Linked DNA regions of Homo sapiens: regions 1 and 3 are each linked to region 2. Evidence: promoter capture Hi-C in human tissues and cell types (Jung and others, 2019). All regions are on one chromosome and are shown on one strand. The core of a region is centred on a gene start or on the middle of the fragment in contact, and the rest is flanking DNA. Distances in the headings are between cores, read along the strand shown. Region 1 overlaps PFKFB4 (6-phosphofructo-2-kinase/fructose-2,6-biphosphatase 4). Region 2 holds the start of NCKIPSD (NCK interacting protein with SH3 domain). Region 3 has its middle 9.1 kb from the start of ARIH2.

Evidence for each region. The method cuts DNA at HindIII sites, captures the fragments that hold promoters and counts their contacts. A contact is called where the count stands out against the background at its distance.
Region 1: a contact is called between a fragment that was not itself captured here and the fragment with the promoter of NCKIPSD in region 2, in 1 of the 25 tissues and cell types used here (hippocampus).
Region 3: a contact is called between a fragment that was not itself captured here and the fragment with the promoter of NCKIPSD in region 2, in 1 of the 25 tissues and cell types used here (dorsolateral prefrontal cortex).

The regions. Positions count from the first base shown.
Region 1 is chr3:48,532,128-48,536,160 of GRCh38, reverse strand. PFKFB4 (6-phosphofructo-2-kinase/fructose-2,6-biphosphatase 4) reads left to right here. Exons shown (of 14, transcript NM_004567.4): 9 at 503-649. Among named protein-coding and RNA genes, the nearest start is that of MIR6823, 16 kb to the left of the region's middle. The HindIII fragment of the contact is 9,044 bases long and covers 1-4,033 here.
Region 2 is chr3:48,683,179-48,687,249 of GRCh38, reverse strand. NCKIPSD (NCK interacting protein with SH3 domain) reads left to right here and starts at 1,335. Exons shown (of 13, transcript NM_016453.4): 1 at 1,335-1,613. The coding sequence starts at 1,443. RefSeq lists enhancers at 828-897, 492-1,223 and silencers at 1,420-1,714, 1,108-1,827. The HindIII fragment of the contact is 9,717 bases long and covers 1-2,801 here.
Region 3 is chr3:48,907,831-48,911,674 of GRCh38, reverse strand. No RefSeq gene overlaps it. Among named protein-coding and RNA genes, the nearest start is that of ARIH2, 9.1 kb to the left of the region's middle. The HindIII fragment of the contact is 4,450 bases long and covers 247-3,844 here.

The DNA of each region.
Region 1 (4,033 bases), core at 1,366-3,865, 150 kb after region 2:
CATTCTTTTAATGTGCAGTCGAGGTGAATGACCTTCATTCAACCTAGAATCTTCCCATCATGTAGGGAAGGTCATCAAGCAACAGGCAAATGCCTGGATCTCTGGTTTCCATGTGAGCTGTCACTCACTGAGCCCCTTTTGTCAGAGGCATGCCACCCTTAGAGCGACCTGAGTCCATACAGTGTAGCAGATAGCTGTGCCACAGTCCAGGGGAGACCTCAGTGGTCACGTAGCACAGGGCACCTGGTTGTGGGGAGGCAGTGGCCCTGATGAGTCTCAGCTGTAACTGTGCTGCTGTGCTCAGGGTCTGGGAGGGTGCACAGGAACAGCACTTGTGTTCTTGTGTGTCAGCATGTGTGTCATCGACAAGTTAGTTCATGCTTTTTACCAAACCTGTAGTGAGTGTTCAAGGCGAGGGTGATCTCATGGACCCTGCGGCTATGGGATGCTTTAAGGGCAGCCCAAGACCTGTGGGTCTGAGTTTGCTTATGATGTATTTCAGTTTGCCAAGAGTCTAGCCCAGTTCATCAGTGACCAAAATATCAAGGATCTGAAGGTCTGGACAAGCCAGATGAAGAGGACAATCCAGACGGCTGAGGCACTGGGTGTGCCCTATGAACAGTGGAAGGTCCTCAACGAGATCGATGCGGTAGTTACCGTCCCTCCCTCCCTGTCTACCTCCCAGATACCGCAGGGCTGCTGCATCATATTGTAACAACAGTGACCATTGCTCCCCTTGGGCAAAGGAGAGGAGAGAGAAAGGATACAGGAACCTAGGGGCTGGGAGCAGAGAGGAAAAGGCAGCCTAACAGGATGGGACCTTGGGTGAGCCCTAGACCATTCTCAGGAGTGAGCCTGGGAGTTGACACCTCAACCTCACTCTCCTCCCTCCCTGTGGCCTCCTGCTAGGGTTCCTCATGGTCTAGCTCAACAAGAAATCAGCGGCCACGGGAGCTTGGTAGCTGCAGTCAGCCATAGCCAACCTCCCAGGGATCTGGAGACACAAATGAGGTGAACCAGCACGGCCTTTGTCTCTTTAAAGATGCTGTTCTCGCCAGGTGCGGTGGCTCACCCTTGTAATCCCAGCACTTTGGGAGGCTGAGGCGGGCGGATCACCTCAAGTCAGGAGTTTGAGTCCAGCCTGGCCAACATGGTGAAACCCCATCTCTACTGAAAATACAAAAATTAGCCAGGCATGGTGGTGGGTACCTGTAATCCCACGTACTCGGGAGGCTGAGGCAGGAGAATTGCTTGAACCCAGGAGACAGAGGTTGCAGTGGGCTGAGATTGTGCCACTGCACTCCAGCCTGGGCAACAGAGTGATGTTCTGTCTCAAAAAAAAAAAAATGCTCTTCTGCTGACTTCTGGGTTGCATTGTTTCTAAGAGAAGTCTGTTGTCATTCTCATCTTTGCTCTTCTGGATATAATGTTACCTCCTTTTTCTCTGACTGCCTTTAATATTTTCTTTTCTTCTTTTTTTTTTTTTTTTCAAGACAAGATCTTACTCTGTCACCCAAGCTGGAGTGCTGTGGTGCAATCATAGCTCACTGTAGCCTCAACTTCCTGGGCTCAAGCCATCCTCCCATCTCAACCTCCTGACTAGCTGGGACTACAGGCACTTGCCACCATGCCAGGCTAATCTTTTCTAATTTTTGTAGAGACGGAGTCTCATGATGTTGCCTAGGCTGGAATATTTTCTCTTTATTGCTGATTTTTAGCAATTTGATTATGATGTATCTCAGTATGGTTTTCTTTATGTTTATCATCCTTGGGGTTTATTGAGATTCTCGGATTTCTGGGTTTCTAAATATAAAATGTGAAGAATTGTTGGCCATCATTTCTTCAAAGGTATTTTCTGCCACCCCTTCTCCCATCCTGGACTCCCACTCTGTGTGTGTTAGACTGTTTGGTATCATCCCACAGGTCACTGAACTTCTGGTTTTTTAATTTCTTCTGTTCATTTCTTCTCTGTCTTTTTTTCCTTCCGAGCTTTAATTTAGATAGTTTCTACTGCTATGTCTTCAAATTCACTTATCTTTACTTCTGCATTTTTATTAAACCCATCCAGTGAACTTTTCATATCAGATGTGGTGTTTTGAAGCTCCAGGAATTTCATTTTGTTCCTTTTTTGAATCTTCCATTATTTCTTCATTATGCTTGGCTCTGCAGTCCAGGAAGTGCCTCTGGGCAGTAAGCTGCTGCCTCCTCCCCTCAGCTTGCTTCCCTTCTCTCAAGGATCACAGTCCTGCCTAGTCTCGTGTCTAAAAACAGTTGTTTGATTTGTCCCTTTATTTATTTATTTTTTTGAGACGGAGGTTTGCTCCTGTTGTCCAGGCTGGAGTGCAATGGCACGATCTCGGCTCACTGCCACCTTCGTCTCCCGGGTTCAAGCGATTCTTGTGCCTCAGCCTCCAGAGTAGCTGGGATTATAGGCACCCGCCACCACACCAACTAATTTTTGTATTTTTAGTAGAGACAGGGTTTCACCACGTTGGCCAGGCTGGTCTTGAATTCCTGACCTCAGGCAATCCACCCACCTCAACCTCCCAAAGTTCTAGGATTACAGGTGTCAGCCACAGCGCCCTGCCAATTTGTCCTTTTTTAATAATAGTTGTTTTTGTTGGGGCCAGAGCAAATCTGGTACCAGTTGCTCCATCATGGCTTGGTCTTTATTATGGGTGGTTCCCATTTCAATATGAAAAGCTTTTTCTGTGGATATATACTTTGACTAATTTGAATATTACCACCCCTGCTTTTGTTTTTCCATTTTTTTTTACTGTGGTAAAATATGCATAACATAAAATTTACCATCATAGCTGTTTTGAAGTGTACGTTTCAGGAGTATGAAGTACATTTACATTGTTATGCAACTCTCACCACCATGCATCTCCAGAACTCTTTTAATCTTGTAAAACAGAAACTCTGTACCCACTGAACAATAACTCAAGCCAGATGTGCTGGCTCACACCTATAGTCCCAGGTACTTGGGAGGCTGAGGTGGGAGGATTGCTTGAGCCCATGAGTTTGAGGCTGTGGTGTGCTATGATTTCATTCACGATTGGCCCTTGCACTCCAGCCTGGACAACATAGTGAGACCCCATCTCTAAAAAAATTTTAAAAAGAAAAACAATAACTCTATTTGCTACTCCCAGCCCCTGGCAACCACTTTCTGTCTTTATGACTTTGACTACTTTATATACCTCATATAAGTGAAATCATATAGTATTTGTCTTTTTGTAACTGGTTACTTTAGTTAGCATAATATCCTCAAGGTTCATCCATGTTGTAGCTTGTGCAAGAGTTTCCTTCCTGTTTATTTTTTAAGACAGCATCTCACTCTGTCACCCAGGCTACAGTGCAATGTGGAAATCACTGCAGCCTCAAACTCCTAGACTCAACGATTCTCTTGCCTCCCTAGTAGCTGGGACTAACAAGTGCACACCACCATGCCTAGATAATTTTTTTATTTTTTGTAGAGAAGGGAGGCTCACTATATTGCCCAGGTTGGTCTCAAACTCCTAGCCTCAAGCGATTCTACCACTTTGGCCTCTCAAAGTGCTAGGATTACAAATGTGAACCATCACACCCAGCCTTAAGAATTTTCTTCCTTTCTAAGGCAGAATAAGATTCTATTGTATACCACATTTCGTGTATCCATTCATCTGCCAATGGACACTTGGACAGCTTCCACTTTTTAGCTATTGTGGATAATGCAGCTGTGAACATGGATACAAATGTCTCTTTGAGACCCTGCTCTCAATTCAATTCTTTTTGGTATAGACCTAGAAGTGGAATTGCCAGATCCTATGGTAATTCTGTTTTTATTATTTATTTATTTATTTATTTATTTTGAAACGGAATCTCGCTCTGTCGCCCAGGCTGGAGGGCAGTGGCATGATCTCAGCTCACTGCAACCTCCACCTCCCTGGTTCAAGCAATTCCCCTGCCTCAGCCTCCTGAGTAGCTGGGATTACAGGCCCACACCACGATGCCTAGCTAATTTTTTTTGTATTTTTAGTAGAGACAGGGTTTC
Region 2 (4,071 bases), core at 86-2,585:
CCTGAACCTCACACTAGGCCTATGTACTTTAGGCCTAAAAATAGGCAACTGGGTCAGACAGACACCCATAATCCCAACACTGGGAGGACTGCTTGAGTCCGGGAATTTGAGACTAGCCAGAGCAACATAGCAAGACCTTGTCTCTACTAAAAAAAAAAAAAAAAAAAAAAAAAAAAAAAGCTGAGTGTGGTGGTGCATGCCTGTAGTCCCAGAGACAGTAGGCTTGAGCCTGGAAGATCAAGGCTGCAATGAGCTTGATCATCCCACTGCACTCCAGCCTGGACGACAGAGCAAGACCCTGTCTCAAAAAATAAATACAGATAAAAATAGAAAACTTGCACACACTGGCCTGTACACGCCTCCTGCTTCCTGGGCTCGGGCTTCCTGTGGAGCGTAGCTGGACCATTCTCAGCCACAGTCTCTCCAGGACCCTGAGGGCCTCTTCCCTGGGTCTTCCAGGCACTCTTATTACACGGATTTCATATATCTGGAGATCTGGGCTGACTGGAAAGCTGGGTGGATCAAATAGGCTCTTAAGGCCACCGTGGTACCCCACTCCCTCTTTCAGCCCTCCTCTATGCTCTCAGAAAGGGGCATCGCAAATCTTAAGTCCTATAAAGACAATAAAACACAGCAAGATGATAGCGATTGATGGGGGTGGGAGCTTGACGGACAAATACTATAGGAGAGGGAAGGGAAAATTGTCCCAGGTAGAGGGAACAGAATATGCAAAGGCCCAATATAGAGAAAACCAGCCATAGCTGAAGAGAGAGGAGGAGTAGGGGTGGGGAGCAAAGATGGGAGGGCTTTAGACAGGGAATAGCCCCGCCTGGTTTCTGCTTTTGTGGCCCCCTTCTCCCCACACTTGCTCCCCACTGGCCACCACCGGCACTCGGTGAAGACAGGTGGTGAGGCCTAGACACACCGAGAGCCGGGCCCCGCGGGGGCTTCCAAGTGTCGGATCAGCAAGATCATCCTTTCGAGGTCGCCGTCCTTGCAATTAGTAGATGGGACCCACTGCCCCAGGGCGGTAGGGGCGCACCCGCTACGAGCGGAGCGCGCTTTCACCGGGAGGTAGGACGGGACGCAGCGCTCGGACTTAAGCGGGGAAAGGGAGCAGAGGGCTGGACGGGTGAAACTGAGGCCGGGGTGAGGAGTGAGGGTGCGGTGTCCGGGGATGAGGGGCCTGGAGCCGGGAGGGACCAGAGGAGACAGCGAGCTGTCGACCCCAGCCCCGCCGCACCTCTTGGGGCCGCGCGGGGGCGCTGCTCTCCGATGCGTGGAACGATACAGCCCGGGGCGGGGCTTCGGCGGGCGGGCGCGCGCGCGCCTGCGTAGTGTGTCACGGGGCGGGACAACCGCGGCGCGGCTCGGCGCTCCCGGCCTGGCGTTGTGGCGCCGCAGCCCTTGCCACCTTCCCTGCACCTGCCCTGCCCGGCCTCATGTACCGCGCGCTGTACGCGTTCCGCTCGGCGGAGCCCAACGCGCTGGCGTTCGCCGCGGGCGAGACCTTCCTGGTGCTAGAGCGAAGCAGCGCGCACTGGTGGCTGGCCGCGCGGGCGCGCAGTGGTGAGACGGGCTACGTGCCGCCAGCCTACCTGCGCCGCCTGCAGGTGAGTGCGCCCCTTCCCGCCCGGCCTCCGCGCCCCTGGGGCAGGACCCCTTCACAGCCCCGCGGAACCGACCCAGGGACCCCACCCTCTCCGGGACCCGAGGCCAGGACCTCTATCAGACAGGGAGTTTGAGAACCTGACCCTGAGACCCCCGGACCCACGGGGACTGAGACCCCAAGTGTCAGCATCACCCACAAAAGACCAGGCCCTTGACAGACCAACTCCCGATCGACCAAAAGCCTAACTCTGGGACTGAGACTCCTCAGGACCCCAGACCCTTCAGTATCGAGTCCGCCATCTGAATGGCGACCCTGAGCCCCACCGAATCCTGGCCAATTATTCAAATCCCTGAGACCCCAGATCCTTAATATGCCCCTTCTCTGGATTCCTAGGACCCCACAACCAACCTCCCTCCCTCCCTCCCTCCCTCCCTCCCTCCCTCCCTTCCTTCTTCCCCCAACCCCGCGCCTTGCCCCCCGTTGGAGCCACCACTGAGACCTGGACCACCTTGGACACCACCTGTTTCCCTAGCCATTCTCCAGGTCCTCAACCCCCCAACTTGGACCCTAGAGCCATAGACACCTCCATCCCCTATGTAACACCCAAGCTTTGGTACTTCAGTGTCTTTCACTAGCCTGTGTTCAGCCACCCTCTAAGCTCTTCTTAAGTCTCTACCAACCTTATTTGAACCAAGGACCCATGCCCCTGCTGACACTGTCTGCTCCACTCCCCAACCCTGACTTCTCAAACTTTCTTGCTTTGAAAATGGGTTCCATCCCTACTTGTTCCCAGCCTGGAGTGGGGACTGCTCACATTGTGATGAAGTGAGTTCTTATAGCTTCTCCTGGTCTGATCGTGGCCCCATTTCCTTCCAGTGGAAGCTGCAGTCCCAGTTCCTGTTTCCCTAAGAGTAGCCCTGCTGCGGGGGTTGGGGTGCGTATCTCCAGCTGGTCTATTCTGACCACAGGGGGAAGAAGGGCCCAGAGCTGCCGGGCCTGTGCCAGACACCCCCGCCCCGTCCTAGTCCTTATCCTTTAGGAAACATCCTGTCCCAGCCCAGTTCAGGACAGAAATAACGGGATAAATTTGGAAGTGTCATCTGGTCTTACCAGGAAGGATGGGCCCTGGGGGCCTAGGGGCTTCCTCATAGACCCTTGGCGTGATCCCATCTAGGAGTGCCAGGGGTGGGAGTGGGGGCCGTGGACACCATGGCTGCTGTGTGTCAGACCCAACCTTTTTGGGAATGGGGTCTCATTGAAGGCCTCTGAGGAAAAGTCCTGTCTCTTCCCCTACTGGGCATAGGTCAAGGGCCTGTGAGTCCCCTGCCGCCAGCCAGGACCAGTGGGGCAAGGTGTTTGGGGAGGGCAGAGAGGCTACCATCTTCTCTGTCACTGTCTGTTTCTTTCTGCGTGTCTCTTTCTGTCTGGATTGCTGCGACTCTGTGCCTCTCTGCCTGTGTCGTTCCGACTCCACATGTGTGTGTTTTTGTTTCTTCCTCCGGCTCCCCCCACACTCTGGCTTTGGCTCTGTTTCTTTCTGCGTTGTTTCCCTCTGTCTGCCTCTCCGTTCCTCTCTGAGCTCCTCTCTTTCCCCATTCCTTTCTTTCTCTCTCTCTCTGTGTGTGTGTGTGTGTGTGTGTGTGTGTGTGTGTGTGTGTCTTCATGTCTTTCTATCCCCCTGTCTCCTCTCCCTGCACTCTGGCACACCTCATACCACCTGGAGGGCTTTGCTGACCTCTGTGCCCACCTGTCTGTGCCCATCAGGGAAGCTTCTCAAACCCATGGTGGAATGAGTTCATCTCAGCTCCGGGACTCCTATGTAGCCTGATGGACTACGTGTGCCAGGGCCAGGGGAGGGCTGGGGGTAGCTGGTTTGATAGCTGCTACCCTACACTCCCCATGTCAGATAGGCAGAGTAGACTGGATCCCTGGAATGTTGGGGATGGCAGTACAGAGCCTGGAACAGGGGCTAGGCCCCTCTCTCATGTTTATCCTTTGCCACAAACACAGAACTGCTTCCCAGGGTGGGTTTGGAAGCTTACTGAGACATCTTGTGGGGATGAGGGCCAGCAGCAGGGTTGGGGAGGGCAAGTCCCTTTGACCCATTCTCAGCTCCCAGGGCTTACAGAGGGCCCTTACAAGGACAGGGCTGTTCTGGGGTATGACCTTGGTTTTGTGAAAGATCAGCAAGATGCAGAGTGATGTATTAAGGATTCCAGATACTGGAGACTTCCTGTTTGGCATCTCAACCTGGGCTCTGAGCCAAGACCAGGGATAGACGAGGTATGCGCTCCTGGCTGCAAGCTGGGAGCCCCTGGGCTATGTTTTTGCTTTAGACCTCTGATTTTCAGAAACATCTTAGCCAAGAGCCTTGCTGTGGGGTAAAATCCTGATCAGGACCTAATATGTAATGTGGCAGCATGGGGGTCACCCTGTGCCTCAGCTCCCTGAGTGATACA
Region 3 (3,844 bases), core at 1,222-3,721, 220 kb before region 2:
AGCCACCACGCCCAGCCCAAATCACATTTCTTAAATGCTTTGTTCTTTCAGACTGGTTAAAGGCCAGGCACCAAGTTGTTATAGATGGTAAGTAAAGAGGACCACAATATCTGTGGTCAAGGAGCTTTGTTCTAATAGGAGATGCAGAAATTAGTAGAATAATTCAACAATAAGTATCAAATTACCACTGTGAGTGCACTGGATGGAAATACAAGAAAAATAAAAATAAAAATTATCACCGTGAGCCGGACACGGTGGCTCATGCCTGTAATTCTAGCACTTTGGGAGGCTGAGGTGGGCGGATCACGAGGTCAGGAGATCAAGACCATCCCGGCTAATACCGTGAAAACCCGTCTCTACTACAAATAATAAAAAAAAAAAAATTAGCCCGGCGTGGTGGCAGGCGCCAGCTACTTGGGAGGCTGAGGCAGGAGAATGGCGTGAACCCGGGAGGCGGAGCTTGCAGTGAGCCGAGATCGCGCCACTGCATTCCAGCCTGGGCAACAGGGTGAGACTTCGTCTCAAAAAAAAAAAAAAAAAAAAAAAAATTATCACCGTGAGGAGTGCTGCATAGGAGAGTTGGTAGACTCAATCCTCAGCCTCTCTTCCATCTACGCTCCTTCCCCAGTGATCTCATTCAACCTCTTTGCCTTAGGACCTCCCGTATACTGATGACTTCCAGGTTTTCATTTCTAATCCTACCAAATTTCCTATACTTCACACTCAGTATATGCAGTTGTCCATTCAATACCTCCATTTGGATGTCATATCGGCACTCGAATTTAACATGTCTTAAATAAAACAAAATTCTCAAATTTACCTCCAAACCTGCCACTCCCCCAATATTTCCCAGCTCAATACCACTCTCTCTCCATTTACTCAGGCCAAAAATTCACAAATTTGGCCAGGCATGGTGGCTCACGCCTGTAATCCCAGCACTTTGGGAGGCCGAGGTGGGCAGATCACCTGAGGTCAGGAGTTCAAGACCAGCCTGGCCAAGATAGCAAAACCCTGTCTCTACTAAAAATACAAAAATTAACTGGGCATGGTGGTGGGCACCTGTAATCCCAGCTACTCGGGAGGCTGAGGCAGGAGAATTGCTTGAACCCAGGAGGTTGCAGTGAACCAAGATTGCACCACTGCACTCCAGCCTGGGCGACAGAGCAAGACTCTGTCTCAAAAAAAAAAGAAAGAAAGAAAAAACAAATCACAAGTTTTCCATGAGCTTTCCTCTTCCAAATTTCACATTCAGTCCACAAGCAATTCCCATGAGCTATACCTCTGAGATATGTCCTGACTTTAGCACTTACCACTACCTGCAGCTCTATTCCAAGCCACCCTCAATGTGTCTTTGGATGTGAGCAGTAGTCCCTTAACTAGTCGCCCTGCTTTAAAATATTTTTTACTTTTGTAGAGACAGGATCTCACTCTGTCACCCATGTTGGAGTGCAGTACATTTTATTATTTATTTACTTATTTATTTATTTTTATTTTTCGAGGCAGAGTTTTGCTCTTGCCGCCCAGGCTGGAGTGCAATGGTACAATCTCGACTCACTGCAACCTCCACCTCCCAGGTTCAGGCGATTCTCCTGCCTCATTCTCCCGAGTAGCTGGGACTACAGGCATGCACCACCATGCCTGGCTAATTTTGTATTTTTAGTAGAGATGGTGTTTCGCCATGTTTGCCAGGCTGGTCTCAAACTCCTGACCTCAGGTAATCTTCCCACCTTGGCCTCCTAAAGTGCTGGGATTCCAGGCGTGAGCGACCGTGCCCGGCCCAGTACATTTTATTTTTATTCTTTTTTTAAAAAAGATTTATTTTTTTCAAGATAGAAGGTGGGATTTTTCTTTTTTTTTTTTTTTTTTGAGACGGAGTCTCGCCCTGTTGCCCAGGCTGGAGTTCAATGGCATGATCTTGGCTCACCGCAACCTCTGCCTCACAGATTCAAGCGATTCTCCTGCCTTAGCCTCCTAAATTGCTGGGATTACAGGCGCCTGCCACCACGCCCGGCTAATTTTTGTTATTTTTAGTAGACATGGGTTTTCACCATGTTGGCCAGGCTGGTCTGGAACTCCTGACCTCAGGTGATCCACCCACCTCAGCCTCCCAAAGTGCTGGGATTATGGGTGTGAGCCACCTCAGGAGATCAAGACCAGCCTGGCCAACCTGGCAAAACCCCGTCTCTACTAAAAATACAAAATTAACGGGCGTGGTGGCACATGCCTGTAATCCCAGCTACTCGGGAGGCTGAGGCAGGAGAATCGCTTGAACCTGGGATGCAGAGGTTGCGGTGAGCCAAGATTACACTATTGCACTTCAGCCTAGGCAACAAGAGCGAAACTCTGTCTCAAAAAATATATATATTTTTAAAGTACAAAACATATCATTTTTCTTTTCAACATCCTCTAAAGCTCTATCACAAGCTTTGGCCTTACGGACCAACAAAGCGTAGTCTAGAGCCAGACAGCTAGGATTAGAAACCCTTGACCGGGTACAGTGGCTCATGCCTGTAATTCCAGCACTTCAGGAAGCTGAGGTGGGATGATTGCTTGAGTCCAGGAGTTCGAGACCACCCTGGGCAACATAGGGATACCCTGTCTCAAAAATAATTAATTAATCAAAATTGAGGCTTGGGAGAGTGGGTCACTCCTGTAATCCCAGCACTTTGGGATGCCAAGACAGGAGGATCACTTGAGCTCAGGAGTTCAAGACTAGCCTTGGCAACATAGGGAAACCCCATCTCTACAAAAAATACAAAAAGTAACCTCGGCCGGGACGGTGGCTCATGCCTATAATCCTAGCACCTTGGGAGGACAAGGCAGGTGGATCACCTGAAGTCAGGAGTTTGAGACAAGCCTGGCCAACATGGTGAAACCCTGTCTCTACTAAAAATACAAAAATTAGCCAGGCGTGGTGTCGGGTATTTGTAATCCCACCTACTCAGGAGGCTGAGGCAGGAGAATCGCTTGAACCTGGGAGGCAGAGGTTGCAGTGAGCTGAGATTGTGCCACTGCACTCCAGCCTGGGTGACAAGAGCAAAACTCCATCTCAAAAAAAAAAAAAAAAATTAACCAGGCATGGTGGTGCACACCTGTAGTCCCAGCTACTAGTGGGGCTGAGATGGGAGAATGGCTTCAGCTCAGGAAGTGGAGGTTGCAGTGAGCTGAGATTGTGCCACTGCACTCCAGCCTAGGTGACAGAGCAAGACCCTGTCTCAAAAAAATAAAACTAAAATTAAAATAATACTTTAAAGAGAATCCCAACTCCACATCTTCCTGTCCATGTGACCTTGGGCAGGGAACCTTAACCTCTCTGTGACTTAGTTTGCTCATTTGTGAAATTAGGAGAATAATAGCAGCCTCTACTGAGTGAAAAAAGCAAACTGGTATTTACAATATAGCCTTTTATCAATGAAAACAGTTTGTGTAAGTGTGTGTGTAGGTGTGTATAGCTGTATATATAAATATGTATGTTAACTCATTGAAAGGGCCCTGAAAGATATGTACAAAATGCTAATATTTTATTTATTGATTTATTTAATTTTTTTCTGAGGCCTAGCCTAGGAGACAAGCCTAGGTAACAGAGCAAGACCCTGTCTCAAAAGACCCTAGGTGATGCTCTGTCACCTAGGCTGGAGTGCAGTGGTGCTATCTTGGCTCACTGCAACCCCTGCCTCCTGGGTTAAAGCAATACTACCTCAGCTGGGCACAGTGGCTCACGCCTGTAATCCCAGCACTTTGGGAGGTTGAGGCGGAAAGATCACCTGAGGTAAGGAGTTCAAGACCAGTCTGGCCAACATAGTGAAACCCCATCTTTACCAAAAAATACAAAAATTAGCCAGGC